Linked DNA regions of Homo sapiens: region 1 is linked to region 2. The links are contacts of gene promoters, found by promoter capture Hi-C in blood cells and fetal thymus (Javierre and others, 2016). All regions are on one chromosome and are shown on one strand. The core of a region is centred on a gene start or on the middle of the fragment in contact, and the rest is flanking DNA. Distances in the headings are between cores, read along the strand shown.

The links. Contacts are between HindIII fragments. The CHiCAGO score rates a contact against its expected background, and 5 or more counts as called.
Region 1: a contact is called between a fragment that was not itself captured here and the fragment with the promoter of LYPD3 in region 2, in 5 of 17 cell types (naive CD4 T cells, total CD8 T cells, fetal thymus and 2 more). The highest score is 7.7, in naive CD4 T cells.

The regions. Positions count from the first base shown.
Region 1 is chr19:43,553,157-43,556,080 of GRCh38, forward strand. XRCC1 (X-ray repair cross complementing 1) reads right to left here. Exons shown (of 17, transcript NM_006297.3): 4 at 1,490-1,648; 5 at 453-527; 6 at 245-356. Among named protein-coding and RNA genes, the nearest start is that of XRCC1, 21 kb to the right of the region's middle. The HindIII fragment of the contact is 1,964 bases long and covers 337-2,300 here.
Region 2 is chr19:43,464,125-43,466,926 of GRCh38, forward strand. It overlaps LYPD3 (LY6/PLAUR domain containing 3), which reads right to left and starts at 1,484. Exons shown (of 5, transcript NM_014400.3): 1 at 1,369-1,484; 2 at 201-332. The coding sequence starts at 1,447. RefSeq lists an enhancer at 1-236. The HindIII fragment of the contact is 14,493 bases long and covers 473-2,802 here.

The DNA of each region.
Region 1 (2,924 bases), core at 69-2,568, 89 kb after region 2:
ATGGGACACAGAATATTGTTGCCAAAACCCACCAGTGATCCAGGAGTCCCAGCCTCCAGACCTCTCAACCCTCAGGACACAAGAGGCCAGGCCCACCTTCCTCCACCCTGAGACCCAGGAGTCCAGGACTCCACTACCCTCCTCCCTCAGACCCAGGAATCTGAGCCCCAGCCCCCTCTACCCTCAGACCCACGAGTCTAGGTCTCAACCCTACTCACTCAGGACCCACGTTGTCCGAGCTCACCTGGGGATGTCTTGTTGATCCGGCTGAAGAAGAGAGCCCCCGGCCTCAGAGAGTTGGCGCTCTCATCCTCCTCCTTCACACGGAACTGGCCAAGCTTGGTCACTGTCACCTTCTAAGGTCCCGCAAGGTCAGTATTATAGGTGGGCTGCTGGCAGGTGGGGGTGGAGAGGCAGGGAGAAGGCCATGGGGAGTGACAGGTACAGCTTACCTGGGACGGGGCCTCTGCCTCATCTTTGTCTGGGGGGCTATGAAACCGTACAAAACTCAAGCCAAAGGGGGAGTCCTGGGAAAGGAGGGGTGGGAGTCAGGGAGTCTGGCCCAAGGACAGAGGCCAGGGCCCAAGACCCTTTTCACTCAGGGAAACCTCTTCCTGGCTCCTTCCCTCTCATGAACACCCATGTTGAAGGAGGGGCCCTGGCGATGGTGATGACAATTATAGGATTAAGCTGTTATGACTGAGCCCTAACTCTGAGTCTGGCTCCAAGCCCTTTTCACGCATTAGCTCTTTGGGCAATTGGCAGAGTCTACTAGGTGTCCCAGCGAATTCACTGCCCTATGCACAAACTCCTGCCTGTGGAATGGGAGGGAGTGCTGCGTGCCACTTCCAGAACACAGAAGTGTTCCAGGCTCTCTCCTCTGCCAGCTGGATGCAGAGCCAGAAAATAGGAGAAGTCTGGGTCCCTGCACGACCTCATAAGGAGAAGCCAGCTGACAGGCTAAACACTCCCCAGGACAGTTACCTGGGCAAGAAGCACACCTTTAGTGTGTGGCATCATCACATACTCCAGTCTCACTGTTACCACAGCTTTTAGCATCCCTTAACCTACAGCAACCCTGTAAGGATCAGGCAATGGAGGCCCAGAGAGCGTAAGTCACTTGCCCAAGATCACACAGCTAAAAAGTGGTATAGCCAGGACGTGAACTCAGTAATCAGACGCCAGATCTCCTGATGTTAACTACTAGGCCCACTCTACTAGGCCACCTCTCTAACAAGTCAGTTCCCCTCCTCCGATTCCCCTCTGAGATGCTGCAGTTCACCCTTCCTAGATTCCTCCGGGAGATGAAACTTCTCATTACAGGAAAGATCCCAAACCCATTTCAGGGAACGCAGGGACCCAGCCTCCCCATAATCCCATGGGACACCAGCTGTCTACTCCTCCCAGCCCTATGGGACTCAATATTGGCCCTTATTTCCCTCCTTGCCCAGGACCAAGGACTCTGCACCCTGGCTCCCACCCTAGGTACCTTGCTGTAGGGCTGGCTGCAAACAATTTTGACCCGGTCCCAGCGCTTCTCGGCGGCTGCCCGGACCAGCTTGTCAGGCCCAAACATGCGAACGCGGTTGGGGTTTGAGCCACTGCGGCTCTCGGAAGGGGACATGAAAGATGAGGTGACCAGAAGGACCTGGGTGGGAGAAGCCACAGTGCATGAGAACCAGGGCAGGTTGGCTTAGATGAGAGCTTCTAGGGGCTGGGGAAGAGGGCACAGGGCCCACACAGGGGACTGGGAGTCACTAGAATGTAGCTTGGGCCTAGATGTCTCCAGACCCTTTGTTTCTAGGCCTTGAGTCAGTCCTGCCCTGACACAGGCCCCAGAGGGATCTCTTTATCCTCCAGATGTGAGCGACCCTTATCTAAATTCTCCCATGGAGTCTTCCATATCTGGCAATACAGCGGGCTACATGTCCTAAGGAACTTTCCCGGCAGAGAATATTCAGTAAACTGGCACAATATTCAAACACCTTTTGGAAATGCACAGGTGAGTCAGCGGAAAGGCAAGGGGAATTACTAGAGGCTGGAAATGAGAAAACAGAATCCAGAGAGTCAGGCGAGCTGCACTAAGTATTAAGTGATTGTTTCTCAGCTCAAACCTACCCTCTACAACTCATCTCTGTGATCTGGGCCCGCACTTGGCAAACCACCTTTCTGCTTCCCTAGCTGATCGTGACCAGGCTCTGCCAATAGGGGGGGCAAGAGAGAGAGTTTGCAAGGCTGCAGGAGGGAGGAAGGACCAGCTTCTCGTGCATTGCAGATCCTGTGAGCATCACCCCCAGTTAAGCTTCTGCTGCTGCAGTGGTTCCTGCCTGCAGCAGCAGATGAATCCAGTTTGCAGTGTCCCAATACCTCCAGAAACAGCCTCATTCAGCCCCTCTCAGCAGCCGGTGGGGGAGGAAGCCCTCCTCAAACGATCTGAATTTCAGCTCCTGGAGCCCCACCTCCCAGTTTCCAAACATCTACGTTTCAATAATTCCTGCTCCTTTCTTTTGTTCCCCCAACCCTGGGAGTGGTAGCTACTCCCTGCGGTTGCTTCTCCCTCATATCTTAGTCTTCTAGTAACACCTAGTTACTGGTTCTTTCTATCAAATTATCTGTTAAAATAACTGGTGTGGTTTTAATCTCCGGGCAAGGACCCTGACTGACCCGGCAGCACTCATGTTGGTAGTTTGTCATGGTGCTGATCCCAGATAGCAAATAACTTGATTTTATTTATTATTATTATTTTTTTAAGAGACAGGGTCTTTCTCTGTCACCCAGGCTGGAGCACAGTGGTGCGATCATAGCTCACTGCAGCCTCGACCTCTGGGTCTCAAGTGATTCTCCCACCTTGGCCTCTGAGTAGCTGGGTCTAGAGATGCACGACACCACACCTGGCTAATTTTTTATTTTTTGTAGAGGCATGG
Region 2 (2,802 bases), core at 234-2,733:
ACTCTCTGCTCCTCGCGCTTGTAATTGTTAATAGAGAAGGCCTGGCCTGCAAGGCTGTGTCGTAGGGTCCCGGCCAGGCTGAAAGGGAGGGGTGGGGCCGCGTTAAAGGGGCGTGGCCAGATCCAGAAAGGACTATAAGGAGGCGGGGCTGGGCCGGAGGAGCCTGCAGTGGTGTGCGTGGCCCGGGGGTCCCCACTCACTGGTCTCCACCGCCCCCACGGCCTCGGTGCAGACGTCCACGCCCGGCGCGCACTTCACTGTCTTCATCTTGTTCGGGGAGCATCCGTCATCTGCTTTCTGCACGCAGCTGTAGCACTCCAGGGCCTGCGCTCCTGGGGGAGCGGAGCCGAATAGACCTGAGCCCTCCTTGCTAAAGCGTCCACCCCCAAGGAGAAATAGTCCTTCCCATGCCCTCTGTCCCGGGATTAGACAGTCTTATTGCACACACTTTTCCAGGGCAGGAGTAGGGAAAAGCTTTCCACAAATCTGGAAGCACGGGAATCACTGGACCCTTTTCCTTCACACCCACTATGCCAACTGTGGGCACATCCTTCCGACAGCCCTGTATGCCCACTGTAGGCGATCCCCGCCATGAAGCCCCTCATCCCGGGGTAGGAAGGATACCTCCTCACGGTTTTCTGCTCAGAATGAGAGAACTTTTCCCACAGTGTGTGGGAGAACTTTTCCCACAGTAGACTGTGCTCAGTGAGGGATCCCTTCCCACAGCCCCCTTCTGCTCAAATGAGAGAACACTACCCACAGCTTCTCTGCCCAGGACAGGGAACACTTTTTTCTTTTTTTCTTTTTTTCTTTTTTTTTTTTTTGAGACGGAGTCTCGCTCTGTCGCCAGGCTGGAGTGCAGTGGCGCAATCTCGGCTCACTGCAACCTCCCCTCCTGGATTCAAACGATTCTCCTGCCTCAGCCTCCCGAGTAGCTGGGACTACAGGCTCGCGCTACCGCGCCCAGCTAATTTTTGTATTTTTAGTAGAGACAGGGTTTCACCATGTTGGCCAGGCTGGTCTCGATCGTTTGACCTCATGATCCGCCTGCCTCGGCCTCCCAAAGTGCTGAGATTACAGGCATGAACCACCGCGCCCGGCCTAGGAACAGGGGACTTCTTTCTGCAGCTTCAGGATAGGAAAATTTTGCCCACAGCTCCCCTTGTCCGTGGTGGGGAACCCTTCCTACGGCCCATGGTGGAGGACCCTTCCCTCTGCCTCCCTTGCTTAGGATGGGGGAACTTTGCCCACAGTGCCCTCTGCTTATGTGGGGATCCTTCCCACAGCCTTCTCTGTACGGGGCCAGAGGAGCCTCCTCCCTAAGAGCCCCCACTCTACCCCCTCCACCTCTCCGGGCAGCAGACCCACCTCCGCGAAGCAGCAGCAGCAGCAGCCAGCCTGCAGTCCAGATCATGGCCTGGGCACCTGCTTTCCTGGCGGGGTCCATGGCTCCGTCCTGCTCCCTTGGCGTCCCCCCTGGATGTGCCGCCTCCGAGCTCGGGCCCTCTTACCTGAGCCCAGGATGAGTAACCTCGCCCCAGGCAACCCCAGCCTTGCCCAACCGGGCCAACTCAGCGTCGGCTGTGGGGCGGGGCCCCGCCCCTAGGCGCGTCATCCAAGGGAGAGCGGTCCCTGCCCTGTGAAGTTGCCAAGGAGGGAAAGGGTGGGAGCTGAGGTTCCCTGACAGCTCGCGGGAGAAAGTCTGTGTGTGTTTGGAGTGGGAGAGTAGTGGGGCTTAAAGACAGGCTGGGGCTACTCGACATTCAGTGTTCGGTAACTGTTAAATGAGCATCTACAGTGTGCCCGGCTTTGGTCTAGGTAATGCTGGAGATGAAGACAGAACCAGTGCCTGTCCTGGCAGAGCTCACAGTCTGATGGGGGAGACAGATGCTAATCAAATAATCGTACAAATTGGTGTTTACCAAAGAGACTAAGACACTGAAGGAAAAAGTGTAGTGATACAAGGAGATGTGCAGTCTAGAAGTGGGGGCTGGTCGGTGAGGGCTTCCTTGAGGTTATCTGAGATGCAACCTCAAGGGCATGCAGGATGTAGCCAGCTAGAGCAGGTCAAGAGAGGGACACAGCCCTTTACAAGCAGAGGGAACAGCACGTGGGAGCACCTGGAGGTAGGAGGTAGGATGGACCATTCAAACATGGAAAGGAGAGCAGTGCTCCTGAGCTCAGAAGTCCATGAGAGAAGGGCAGGAACTGAGATGAAAGAGTCAGGCAGAGGCCGAGACACTCAGGGCATCAGAGGCCCCGACAAGAGATTTGGATTAATTTTGAGAATAGTAGAGAACCTTTAAGAGGGTCTAAATGAGCTGGAGGACATAATAGATTTGCTTCCTAATATGATCAACCTGAGAAATAGTGCAGCTAGCCATCAAGAAGTAAATGGAGGCCGGGCGCGGTGGCTCATGCCTGTAATCCCAGCAATTTGGGAGGCCGAGCTGGGTGGATCACTTGAGATCAGGAGTTTGAGACCAGCCTGGGCAACATGGCGAAACCTCATCTCTATTAAAAAAAAATAATAAATTTAAAAAAATTAGCCAGGTGCAGTGGCGTGCACCTGCTGTCCCAGCTACTCGGAAGGGTAGGGCAGGAGAATCACTTGAGCCCAGGAGGTGGAGGTTGCAGTGAGCTGAGATCACGCCACTGCACTCCAGCCTGGGCAACAGAGTGAGACCCTGTCTCAAAAAAAAAAATTTAAAAATTTAAAAATTAAAAAAAAGTAAATGGATCTGAGAGTAGGATATATGATTTTAAAAAAGGAAAAAGAAAAAGAAGTGAATGGCAAAAGAG